Linked DNA regions of Homo sapiens: regions 2 and 3 are each linked to region 1. The links are contacts of gene promoters, found by promoter capture Hi-C in human tissues and cell types (Jung and others, 2019). All regions are on one chromosome and are shown on one strand. The core of a region is centred on a gene start or on the middle of the fragment in contact, and the rest is flanking DNA. Distances in the headings are between cores, read along the strand shown. Region 1 holds the start of CYP11B2 (cytochrome P450 family 11 subfamily B member 2). Region 2 overlaps LY6E-DT (LY6E divergent transcript). Region 3 holds the start of GML (glycosylphosphatidylinositol anchored molecule like).

The links. Contacts are between HindIII fragments. The study calls those that stand out against the background at their distance.
Region 2: a fragment that was not itself captured here is called in contact with the fragment with the promoter of CYP11B2 in region 1 in 4 of the 25 tissues and cell types used here (H1 embryonic stem cells, pancreas, spleen and 1 more).
Region 3: a contact is called between the fragment with the promoter of GML here and the fragment with the promoter of CYP11B2 in region 1, in 2 of the 25 tissues and cell types used here (mesendoderm cells and neural progenitor cells).

Annotation. Positions count from the first base shown.
Region 1 is chr8:142,915,462-142,919,586 of GRCh38, reverse strand. It overlaps CYP11B2 (cytochrome P450 family 11 subfamily B member 2), which reads left to right and starts at 1,744. Exons shown (of 9, transcript NM_000498.3): 1 at 1,744-1,985; 2 at 2,373-2,528. The coding sequence starts at 1,747. RefSeq lists an enhancer at 457-738 and a promoter at 1-1,745. The HindIII fragment of the contact is 14,293 bases long and covers 1-4,125 here.
Region 2 is chr8:143,004,933-143,009,057 of GRCh38, reverse strand. The region is part of intron 1 of LY6E-DT (LY6E divergent transcript); the gene reads left to right. Among named protein-coding and RNA genes, the nearest start is that of LY6E-DT, 11 kb to the left of the region's middle. RefSeq lists enhancers at 1-522, 523-1,336 and a silencer at 578-667. The HindIII fragment of the contact is 5,135 bases long and covers 1-4,125 here.
Region 3 is chr8:142,833,114-142,837,238 of GRCh38, reverse strand. GML (glycosylphosphatidylinositol anchored molecule like) reads right to left here and starts at 2,438. Exons shown (of 4, transcript NM_002066.3): 1 at 2,371-2,438. The HindIII fragment of the contact is 25,891 bases long and covers 913-4,125 here.

The DNA of each region.
Region 1 (4,125 bases), core at 495-2,994:
TAAAAATAGGCCGGGCGCGGTGACTCACCACACCTGTAATCCCAGCACTTTGGGAGGCCGAGGTGGGCAGATCACCTGAGGTCAGGAGTTCGAGACTAGCCTGGCCAACACGGTGAAACCCCGTCTCTACTAAAAATACAAAAATTAGCTGGGCGTGGTGGTGGCACATGCCTGTAATCCCAGCTACTTGGGAGGCTGAGGCGGGAGAATTGCTTGAACCCGGGAGACAGAGGTCGCAGTGAGCCGAGATCACACCATTGCACTCTAGCCTGGGCGACAGAGTGAGACTCTGTCTCAAAAATAAATAAATAAATAAATAAATAAATAATAAAAATAAATAAATAAAAGCCAGAAAGTGTATTTGATGATCATAGTTATGTATATGTGAAATGAAGGACAGCAATGATGCAAGGGATGGGTGAGTGGAATTAAAAATATCTTATTATTTATTTATTTTGAGATGGAGTCTTGCTTTGCTGCCCAGGTTGGAGTGCAGTGGGATGATCTCAACTCACTGCAACCTCCGCCTCCTTGATTCAAGCATTCATCTTGACTCAGCCTGCTGAGAAGCCGAGATTACAGGCATGCGCCACCACACCTGGCTAATTTTGTATTTTTAGTAGAGACAGGGTTTTGCCATGTTGGCCAGGCTGGTCTCGAACTCCTGACCTCAGGTGATCCACCTGCATCAGCCTCCCAAAGTGCTGGGATGACAGACATGAGCCACTATGCCCAGCCTAAGAATATCTGATGATTATAAAGTGCTTGCATTACCTCTGAAGCTGTATAGTGTTATATGAAGGTGGAGTTGGAGAGATGAGTTTTAAGCGTATATTGCAAACTCTAGGGCAACCACTAAAGAAGTGAGACCCAGCCTCTAGAAAAAAAAAAAAAAAAGGAAATTAGCTATCAAGCCACGAAAAGAAATGGAGGAACCTTAAACGCATATTACTAACTGAGATACGTCACTTTGAAAAGGCTACAAACGGTGTCATTCCAACTATACAACATTTTGGAAAAGGCCAAAGCATGGTGATGATAAAAAGATCGGAGATGTCAGGGACTGGGGCAGGAGGGATGAGCAGGCAGAGCACAGGTTTTCTTTTCCTCTTTTTAAGACAGTGAAAATACTCCTAGGATCCTGCAAGGAGGGATACAAATTACATACATTTGTCAAAACCCACAGCATGTTGACCACCAGGAGGAGACCCCATGTGACTCCAGGACCCTGGTTGATAACAACGTATCGAGATTCCTCACATGGAACCAGTGCGCTCCTGTGGTGGAGGGTGTACCTGTGTCAGGGCAGGGGGTACGTGGACATTTTCTGCAGTTTTTGATCAATTTTGCAATGAACTAAATCTGTGGTATAAAAATAAAGTCTATTAAAAGAATCCAAGGCTCCCTCTCATCTCACGATAAGATAAAGTCCCCATCCATTTTACTCCTCTCAGCCCTGGAGAAAGGAGAGGCCAGGTCCCACCACCTTCCACCAGCATGGACCCCCAGTCCAGACCCCACGCCTTTTCTCAGCATCCTCAGACCAGCAGGACTTGCAGCAATGGGGAATTAGGCACCTGACTTCTCCTTCATCTACCTTTGGCTGGGGGCCTCCAGCCTTGACCTTCGCTCTGAGAGTCTCAGGCAGGTCCAGAGCCAGTTCTCCCATGACGTGATATGTTTCCAGAGCAGGTTCCTGGGTGAGATAAAAGGATTTGGGCTGAACAGGGTGGAGGGAGCATTGGAATGGCACTCAGGGCAAAGGCAGAGGTGTGCGTGGCAGCGCCCTGGCTGTCCCTGCAAAGGGCACGGGCACTGGGCACTAGAGCCGCTCGGGCCCCTAGGACGGTGCTGCCGTTTGAAGCCATGCCCCAGCATCCAGGCAACAGGTGGCTGAGGCTGCTGCAGATCTGGAGGGAGCAGGGTTATGAGCACCTGCACCTGGAGATGCACCAGACCTTCCAGGAGCTGGGGCCCATTTTCAGGTAAAGCCCTCCCTGGCCCTCGCTGGGAACACCCAGATCCCTGCCCCTGCTGCCCAGGACCCTGCCAGGCACTCAGCACTGCCATTCCCAGCAGGTCCCGGCACTCTGCATCCTTTGGAGGATGGGGAAGGAGTGCAGCACATGCTGGTCTGTGGTGCTGCCAGGGCAGGGGATAGTGCAGAGAAAACCCCAGCTCACTGCAGAGAGGGCAGGACTCAGAAGCACTAAAGTTGAAAGGTTCCAGGGAGCCAGCAGGAGGGCTTTAGCTGTGAAGCCGCTAATCCAGGAGCAGGGAGGGTGGACAGGAGACACTTTGGATTGGGACTGCAGGGTGGGGCCACGAGGGACATGACCCCGTCCAGCAGGGCCTCCTGCTTGGCCCCACAGGTACAACTTGGGAGGACCACGCATGGTGTGTGTGATGCTGCCGGAGGATGTGGAGAAGCTGCAACAGGTGGACAGCCTGCATCCCTGCAGGATGATCCTGGAGCCCTGGGTGGCCTACAGACAACATCGTGGGCACAAATGTGGCGTGTTCTTGTTGTAAGCGGCGAGTTGGGAGCTGAGAGCTGGGAGCAGGGTGGGCAGCCTGGGTGTAGGGGGGAGGCGAGAGAGGTAGGACCCAAAAGCACATCTGCCCTGGGCCCCTGTGGTGGGCAGTGAGGGTGAGCACCCGGCCCAGAGGACGGCCATCCTGTGGGGTCGCGTCTGCACTGTGGGTTGGGGAAGCAGGGCGGTGGTGGAGAAATGGGCACGGGCACCTCTGCAGAGAAGACGCAGAGCAATGAGCCCTTCTGTGTAGTGAGAACCCGCTCTGCACCAACCTCGGCGGCTGCTTTCTCTTGCGGTCTGGGGACTGTCCTTCCCATAGGTCAGAAAACTGAGGCCCTGAGAAGGGGACTTCCACTGGCCCAGGTCACAGGCTGAGTGCTGAGCCTGGTGTTCGCCGGGGCCACAGCCTCCCTCAGGGCGCTCAGGGTCCCTGCAGTCCTGGCAAACCTTCCTGATGGGGACAGTCCGGGGCAGGAGGCAGGTGGGGACGCAGGTGGCTGGTGGTTCCGTTGTTCTCAGAAGCAAGGCACAAGGTGGGGCGGTTGATGGCACTGGGGAGGATGTTTCCTGGCCCGTGGAGAGGGTGGCGCCTGGTCAGGTGGGCAGGGAGAGGCTGATGCTTGGAGTCGGTCACCTGCAGGGATGTTGTCATTAGGACGGGGGAAGGACTGGATGAGGATGTCACAGTGGTGACAGCCCCCACTCCATGGTAGGAAGGGAACGCTATTGGGAATAGTGGGGTTTAGGTAAAAGGGCACCCGTGGGTCGGGGCCTTCACTGAGGCTGGCCTATAGATGACATCTGGGAGAGAGTCAGGACCCAGGAAGGCAGGTCCAGGAGGCTGGGTGCGCATAATGGAAGGAAGGGGAGCGCTCCTGTATGTGTGTGTGTCTTGCATCTGTGCACATGCTGTGTGTTTCTCTGTACCTGCATTTGCACATGTGTAGTGTGTGCACGTGTCTGTGTGTGAATGTATGTGTGGTGTGTGTGCACAAGTGTCTGTGTGTGTGCATGTGCAGGTGCCGGCATGGGTGTAGTGTTTGTGCACACATGCACATGCGTCTCTTCACACATGGTGTTGAGGTCTTGCATGGGCGCACGTGTGCATGTGCATCTTCTGCCTGTCATCACTGTCAACAGCTCACAGCAGCCAGCTGGACATAAATAAAGGAGTTTTGCAGGAATGTGGCTGACAGGGGAAATTCCTCCCCACCATTCCCTGGGGGCATCCATGGAGCCCCCACGCACTCTGGCTGTGGGTGAGGATGGCATGAAGCACAAAGCTTGGTTTCTGTCCTGCAGAAGATATAGATGCTTCACAGAGACAGGCAGAGGCTGCTGCCCCAGAGGCACTGTGCCCAGGGCGGGGAAGGGTGGGGAGGAGAGGGCAGCCAGGGGCTCTCCCCTCAGGACACTGTGTGGGTGAGGTGGGCAAAGCTTGACAACAGGGGTCACCTCCTTTCTTGGAGAAAAGCCCTACCCTGTTACTACAGGGAGGGCCCGCATGGGTGAGGTGGTGCCAGACTTGGGTCGCCAGGTCCCGGGAATGACCTCAGTTACCCTGTCAGCACCTGTGGGCAGAAGCTAC
Region 2 (4,125 bases), core at 651-3,150, 89 kb before region 1:
GGAGAATGGGTGAGTTGAACTGGCAAGGAGGAGCCCACTGTCATTACGGGCCTCTGGAATCCCGGCAGGAGGAGATTAACCACATGGACATTCGAGGTGGCAGAGAGAGCTGCCTAGAGAAGGTGCGGGGGCAGCAGCCAGCTGAGGCAGAGCCCGGAGGGTTTGGTGCAGGAGCGTCTGTAGTGGAGGGCCATCCCCCAGGCTCAAATTCCTCCCATAGGAGATTTTAGCCCTAGGGGAGCTGTTGTATGTGATCTTTGTGGGGTGGTCTTGCCCATCAGATGGGGCCAGTCTGACCCGAGCATGCCTTGGTCTGCTGGCCTCTCCCAGGGCCCCGGCCTGGCCACGCCTGCTTGCAGGGCAGCTCTGGGTGCCCTGGGGGCCTGCAGCATAGCTTCTGCACTGGCAGACCATGCCTGATTGGTGGAGAGCTCCAGCAGGGCAGCCCCCACATCCCTGTGCCAGCCTGCCCACTGCCTCCCACACTGTAGCTTCTCCAGGGCCCACTGTCACCCCCCATCTTGCTTTTGCCAGTGCATGTCTGTGCAGGTGGGTTTTGCTTTCCTTGCCCGCCAGTGTACCTGTGTGTTTGCACCCTGCCCTGCCATTGCTGTGGCAGGAGTACCGTTTGCCCAACGCCCCCTGCTGACTGCCATTGCAGTTGGAGCCTTGGCAGACACAGAGCCAGCCAGCCCCACCTCCCTTGCACCCCACTCTTGCACCAACACTGTTGCGGGAGTGAAACTAGGCACGGAATAGGGACCACCCTGCCTGTGGGGCACAAAGAATGCCACAGGCCTGGGCCTGCCGGTGCTCCACCTCCATCCCAACACCACCGCCAGCATGGCTGTTGCCAGCAGGGGGCCCTGCCCCCCAGGTGCTTTCGTCTGCCACTGTGGTGAACACCTGCACAGAGGCAGGCACCCCAGCACTTGCTAGCACCCTGCCACAGCCGATGAACGTGCACCCTGTGCTGCTGCCACCACGGCTGCTGGCATGTGCAAGCAAGAATGGATCCCGCTGCCACTGCACTGCAAAATGCACTGGCTGGCACCACCTATCAGAGTGTAGTGACCGGTAGTGAGGAGCACCTTGATCCCTCAGTGCAGTTGATTCCTAACCTCCGGGAGCCAGAGAACAAAGTTGGTGCCTGATACAAGTACCCCAGTTAGAGCACACAGTCTGGGAGTTGGGAACTGAGCCTTGGCCCCCTAAAATCATCCAGAAACAAAGCCAGTCAGCTGAATCCAACTTATACTACAATCAAATCCTCAAGGTCATCAAATAGGATAAAAGAAAAAAAAATCATCCAAAGGTTAGCAACTTCAAAGAGCATAGGAACATCAGCCCAAAAGATAAGAAAGAACCAGTTCAAGAACCCAGACAACACAAGCCAGAGTGCCTTCTTTCCTCCAAATGACTGCCCCACCTCTCCAGCAAGGGTTCTGAACCAGGCTGAGATGGCTGAAATGACAGAAATAGAATTCAGAATATGGATAGGAACCAAGATCATTGAGGTGTAGGGGTATGTGGAAACCCAATCCAAGGATGATAGGAGTCACAATAAAATGATGCAGGAGCTGACAGACAAAATTGCCAGTATAGAAAAGAGCATAACTGACCTGATAGCACCGAAAACCACACTATAAGAATTTCATAATGCAATCAGAAGTATTAATAGCAGAATATACCAAGTGGAGGAAAGAATCTCAGTGCTTGAAGACTAGCTTTCTGAAATAAGACAGTCAGACAAGAATGGAGACAAAAGAACTTTGAAAAGGAATGAACAAAACCTCCAGGAAATATGGGATTCTGTAATCCAAATCTGTGACTCATTGGTGTCCCTGAAAGAGATGGGGAGAGTGTAAGCAACTTGGAAGACAGATTTCAGGATATCATCCATGAAAACTTCCCCAGCCTAGCTAGAGAGGCTGCCATCCAAATCCAGGAAACTCAGAGTAAGATACTCTATGAGAAGATCATCCCCAAGACACATAATCATGAAATTCTTCAAGGTCGAAATGAAAGGAAAAAAGTTAAAGGCAGCCAGAGAGAAAGGCCAGGTCACCTACAAAGGAACACCTATCAGACTAAGAGCAGACCTCTCAGTAGAAACCCTACAAGCCAGAAGAGATTGGGGGCCAATATTCAACATTCCTAAAGAAATTCCAACCCAGAATTTCATATCTGGCCAAACTAAGCTTCATAAGTGAAGGAGAAATAAGATCCTTTTCAGACAAGTAAATGCTGAGGGAATTTGTCACCACCAGACCTGCCTCACAAGAACTCCTGAAGGCAGCACTAAATATGGAAAAGAAAGACTGTTACCAGCCACTACAAAAACATACCAAAGTACACAGACCAGTTGCACTATAAAGCAACCACACAAACAAATCTGCATAATAATCAGCTAACATGATGACAGGAGCAAATCCACATATATCAATACTAACCTTGCATGTAAATGGGCTAAATGCCCCAATTAAAAGGCACAGAGTTGCATGCTGGATAAAGAACCAATACCCATCGGTATGTTGTCTTCAAGAGATCCATTTCACATGCAGTGACATCCATAGGCTCAAATAAAAGGATGGAGAAAAATCTACCAAGCAAATGGAAAACAACAAATCAGGGGTTGCAATCCTAACTTCAGACAAAACAGACATTAAGCCGACAAAGATCAAAAAAGACAAAGATGGGCATTACATAATGGTAAAACGTTCAATTCAACAAGAAGACCTAACTATCCTAAATATATATGCACCCAACATAGGAGCACCCACATTTATAAAGCAAGTTCTTAAAGACCTTCAAAGAGACTTAGACTCTCACACAATAATAGTGGGAGACTTTAACACCCCACTGACAGTATTAGACAGATCATTAAGGCAGAAAATTCACAAAAAAATTCAGGAGCTGAACTCAGCACTGGAACAAATGGACCTGATAGACACCTACAGAACTCTCCACCCCGAAACAACAGAATATGCATTCTTCTCATTGCCACATGACACATACTCTAAGATAGATCACATGATTGAACAAAAAACACTCCTCAGCAAATACAAAAGAACTGAAATCATAACAACCAATTTCTCAGACCACAGCACAACCAAATTAGAAATCAAGACTAAGAAATTCACTCAAAATCATGCAATTATATGGAAATTGAATAACCTGCCCCTGATTGACTTTTGCGTAGATGATGAAATTAAGTCAGAAATCAAGACGTTCTTTCAAACTAATAAGAACAAAGATACAGCATACCAGAATCTCTGGGACACAGCTAAGTCAGTGTTAAGGGGAAATTTATAGCACTAAAGGCCCACATCAAAAAGTTAGAAAGATCTCAATTTAACAACCGAACATCACAACTAAAAGAACTGGAGAACCAAGAGAAAACCAGCCCCAAAGCTAGCAGAAGACAAGAAGTAGCCAAAATCAGAGCAGAACCGAAGGAGACTGAGACGTGAAAACCATTCAAAAGATCAACAAATCCAGAAGTTGGTTTTTTGAAAAAGTTAATACAATAGATAGACCACTAGCTAGACTAATACAGAAGAAAAGCGAAGATCCAAATAAACACGATCAGAGATGACAAAGGAGATATTACCAGTGGCCCCACAGAAATATAAATAACCACCAGAGAATATTATGAACACCTCTATGCACATAAACTAGAAAATCCAGAAAAAATGGGTAAATTCCTGGACATATACACCCTCTCAAGACTGAGCCAGGGCCAGGCATGGTAGCTCATGCCTGTAATCCCAGCACTTTAGGAGGCCAAGGTGGGTGGATCACTTGAGATCACGAGTTTGAGACCAGCCTGGCCAACATAGTGAAACCCCATCTCCACTAAAATATACAAATTAGCTGGGCATGGTGGTACATGCCTGTAATCCCAGCTACTCAGGAGGCTGAGGCAGGAGAATTGCTTGAACCTGGGAGGCAGAGGTTGCAGTGAGCCAAGATTGCACCACTGCACTCCTGCCTGGGAGACAGAGCAAGACTCTGTCTCAAAAACAAACAAAAAACAAAAAACTGAGCCAGGAAGAAATGGAATCCCTGAACACACCAATAATGAGCTCTGAAATTGAATCAGTAATGAATAGCTTACCAATC
Region 3 (4,125 bases), core at 1,189-3,688, 83 kb after region 1:
CACTACAACCTCCACCTCCAGGGTTCAAGCAGTTCTCCTGCCTCAGCCTCCTGAGTAGCTGGGACTATGGGCGCACGCCACTACGCCCAGCTAATTTTTGTATTTTTAGTAGAGACGGGGTTTCACTATGTTGGCCACGCTGGTCTTGAACTCCTGACCTCAAGTGATCTGCCTGCCTCAGCCTCCCAAAGTGCTGGGATTACAGGTGTGAGCCACTGCAAATTTTAAAAATCCTTCTCTTTGTTCTTTGGACATACTGAATGCCAGCCCGTCTACCCCCATGCCCCTAATTACAATTATTTCCTCCGAAAGAAAAGATTTCAATTTCAGAAAGTCATCTATTTTATTTGACTTCAACACGAGACAAGCCACACTCTGTAGGAGAAGGGGAAGGGCACCGCTCAAGATGGCTTCAGTTAGGGTTAGAGACAGGGCCGGCTCCAGAGGCAGCCAGGGTCAGGTTGAAGCTGCAAGCATCCCACTTGGCCTCCACCTTTGAGCAAGCCAGTAGTCCAGGCCTTCCCACAGGCTCCTGGAGAGAGGAGAGGGCACACATCCCCAGTAGTAACATACAACCACCTCCAAGCTTTCCAGCTATTTTGTACGCAACGCAAGATGTTCAATAAAAACATCACAGGATATGTAAGAATTAGGAATAAATTATTGCTAATCAATAAAACAACAATAGAAATAAACCCACAGTTCACTCAAATGTTGACATTAGCATACAAGTACTTTAAAAATTCTAATGAGAGCATTAAAGAGAAAAAGATTACTAAATTGATTTTTTAAAGATGAAAAAATTTTAAAAATAACAGGATGTGTAAGAGGCAGAAATAAGGGACTATAGTATGAATTATTTCTACACCACCATACTTCTGACCCTAAATATGTGAGTTTTTACACACAAACCAGTTCTCCAACTCTCTGGACACTGACCGTCCAACATTTCAATTCAATTCTGACACTGCCTTGAGCAGGGCAGACCCCACAGGTGAAGGGCTCAGTCCCACCCTAATGCCCCCACTTCAGATGCCAATCACAAGTCTGGGCCACGTGTACTTCTGACTGCCCAGTTATAAATCAAGGGTTTCCAAGACCACCTCCTCCTAGATAATTTGCTAGAACAGCTTACAGAGCACAAGAAAACAGTTTACTTACTATTACCAGTTTATCACAAAGGTGACAACTCAGGAACCGTGAAACGGAAGAGATGCATGGGGCAAATACAGGGTAAGCTTAAGATGGCTTCAGACAAAAAGAGTAGGAATATCTTATTATCAGCAGACCCACTACAAGAAATATTGAGTTCATAACATATATAGAAATAAAGTATATGACAATATCACAAAGCAAAGGAGGCTGTAGAACTGAAAGGCAGAAACAGTTACGTCAGCGTCGGCGAGTGCAGGCTTCCAGGCAAAAAACATTGCAAGAGGTGACAAGGACAGACACTTCAGAGCCGAATGCAGTTTCGGACACTGAGAGTCCATTTTCTGACTATGGTGGCATTAAGCAATAAGTCACCCCAGAAGGATTAACTGGAAAATCCTCATCTGTTTGGAACTTAAGAACACACCTCCAAATAAGAAATAGACCCCCAAATCCTTCTCAATAGAAGTCAAGAATATTTTGGGCAAAGTCATAATAAAGAATGAAAAATAGAAACCTGGCAGAAGTAGCCTGAAGGGACACGGAAGGAAAAGCAGGGCTCCATTAGAAAAGGCAAAAAGACTGGAAACGAAGGCCTCCTTCTCTCCTTCGAAAGCAAGGAGCCAGAAAAGAACGAGCAGCAGAACGTGGAACAGGCTGCGGCCCGAGACCCGCGCCTTGGGGAATCACAGACAGTGTGGGGGTGGGCGGCCCCGGGACACCCCGAGGGAAGGGGACTCAAGAACTGAACGGAGCCCCAGCCCCAGACTCTCGAGGGAAGTTGAGCTGTAAGGGGAGGGGGGCCCCAGGGAAGCGGAGTTGGGGTGCTGGCATCTCCCTGGGACCCCTGAGCATAGTTGGGGGGTCTCCCTGGGACCCTGATGGGAGTGGAGCTCGAGAGGTCCCCCAGTACCCCTGAGAGGAGCTGAATTAGGGGGTCTCCCTGGGACCCTGAGGGGAATGGAGCAGGGGGCGTCTCCCCAGGAACCTGCGGGGAGTGGAGTTTTGAGGGGTCCCCCTGGCACCCCTGAGAGGAGCTGAGTTCGGGGGGTCTCCCTGGGGCTCCGAGGGGAGTGGGGGCACCCCATCCAGGGAAGCGCGGCGCACCCCCGGCGGCGTCCTGGCGGCCCAAGCAGCTGACGAGGAGGCTGCCTCAGCTGGGCCCCTGGGCAGACTCCAGTCTCACGCCTGGGTCCCGACCCGCCTCAGGAAACTGACCTGTGCCCCTCGGAGCCCCGCAGTGTGCGTGCCCGCCGCCTCCAGCCATCTGAGCCTCCCGCGCCGACCTCCCCACCCGCTTTCTGGAACTTTCGGGGGCCTCCGCCGGCCGCACAGCCCCGCCCTCCTTCCGGACCCTCAAAGCCCCGTCCCCAGGCTCCAGGCCTCCAGCCCATCTGCCAGTGTTCAAAGGTGGGCAGGGTCCCCCTTGGGGCTCCCAGGTGAAAATATTTCTCACAGAAATCTGCACACCCTGGCTCCATCCACGCTCCCTTTAGGAAAGCCACGGGGAATGTTCTAGAAGCGCACGGCCCTGGCTGCTGGAGAAACGGGACAGCAGCCACCCTCGGCAGCCTGTTGGCACCGCCCAGGCCCACCCTGCCCTCAAGGTCCCAGTCCACCTGCCTCGTTCCTGGACCCTCCCTCTAGGGGGTCCCGCCATCACCATAACCCCTGGGGACCCCGGGAGCCCCTCCGCTCAGGGTGCGACCCCGTCGCCTCTGGAGCCGGCCCTGTCCCTAACCCTGACCAAAGCCAGCTTGAGCGGTGCCCTTGCCCTTCAGCCCCGCCAGCGCCCACCTGTGCAGAGGTTTCAGGGGGAGACCTGCCTGGCTTTCGCTTGAGCTCCTGCCATTTTGCCTTCAAGCTGTGTGTGGCCAGGGACAGCTGGCTTCACCCGAGCATCTCCTACACAGTGTGGCTTGGCTCTTGTCGAAGTCATATAAAATAGGTGAATTTCTGAAATTGAAATGTTTTATTTGGGAGGAAATAACTGCAATTAGGGGCACGGGGGCAGACTGGCTGGCCTTCAGTATGTCCAAAGAACAAAGAAAAGGCTTTTTTAAATTCGCGGTGGCTTACACCTGTAATCCCAGCATTTTGGGAGGCTGAGGCGGGCAGATCATTTGAGGTCAGGAGTTCAAGACCAGAGTGATCAACATGGTGAAACCCCGTCTCTACTAAAAATACAAAAATTAGCTGGGTGTGGTGGTGTGTGCCTGTAGTCCCAGCTACTCAGGAGGCTGAGGCAGGAGAATCCCTTGATCCCAGGAGGTGGAGGTTGTAGTGAGCCGAGATCGTGCCATTGTGCTCCAACCTGCAGGACAAATCAAGTCTCTGTCTCAAAAAAAAAGGAACTATGTCTCTTTTTTATAAAGAAGAGAAATAGTACATATTGCTGTCTGAGTTTCATTGGCACTAGTAGGATTTTGGGGAGCTGGCAAGCTCTGGTTGATGAGTGAATCAGTGACGGCAGTGGGTGAACCGAGGCTTAGAGTTGCAGCAGGTGGTCTCAGTAGCCATCAGATAAAACTGGTTTCAGGTTACCGCAGACAGTTTCAGCAGTCAGGCCTCAGAGAAGTACATTCTTGGAGCAATGTTTTCTATCCTGAGTGCTGAATGGTCTCCCTACCTGGCACTCTGCCTTAGTTGGGTGTGACAAGGGTGACCCAATTTGTATGCTCACCTTTCACACCGAATCCTCAGCTCGGACGGGTTTCCCTTTCTAGGCTTTGACTTTCCCCTTGAACCTCATCCCACACACCTGTTCCATCGGGGCCACTGGCTTATGATGGAGACCAGTGGTATGACTGTGGCAGGCTCCTTCTAGGGGCACTCTGTCTCCTGGGATCTGCCACACTGGGGGGGATTCTACTTGGCCTTCTCTGACTCCCCAGGGTCCCTCCCACCACAGCACTTGGAGGCTCTTCCATGGGAAAACTGTCTTGATCTTTAGGTACCTGGAGATTCTGGGCC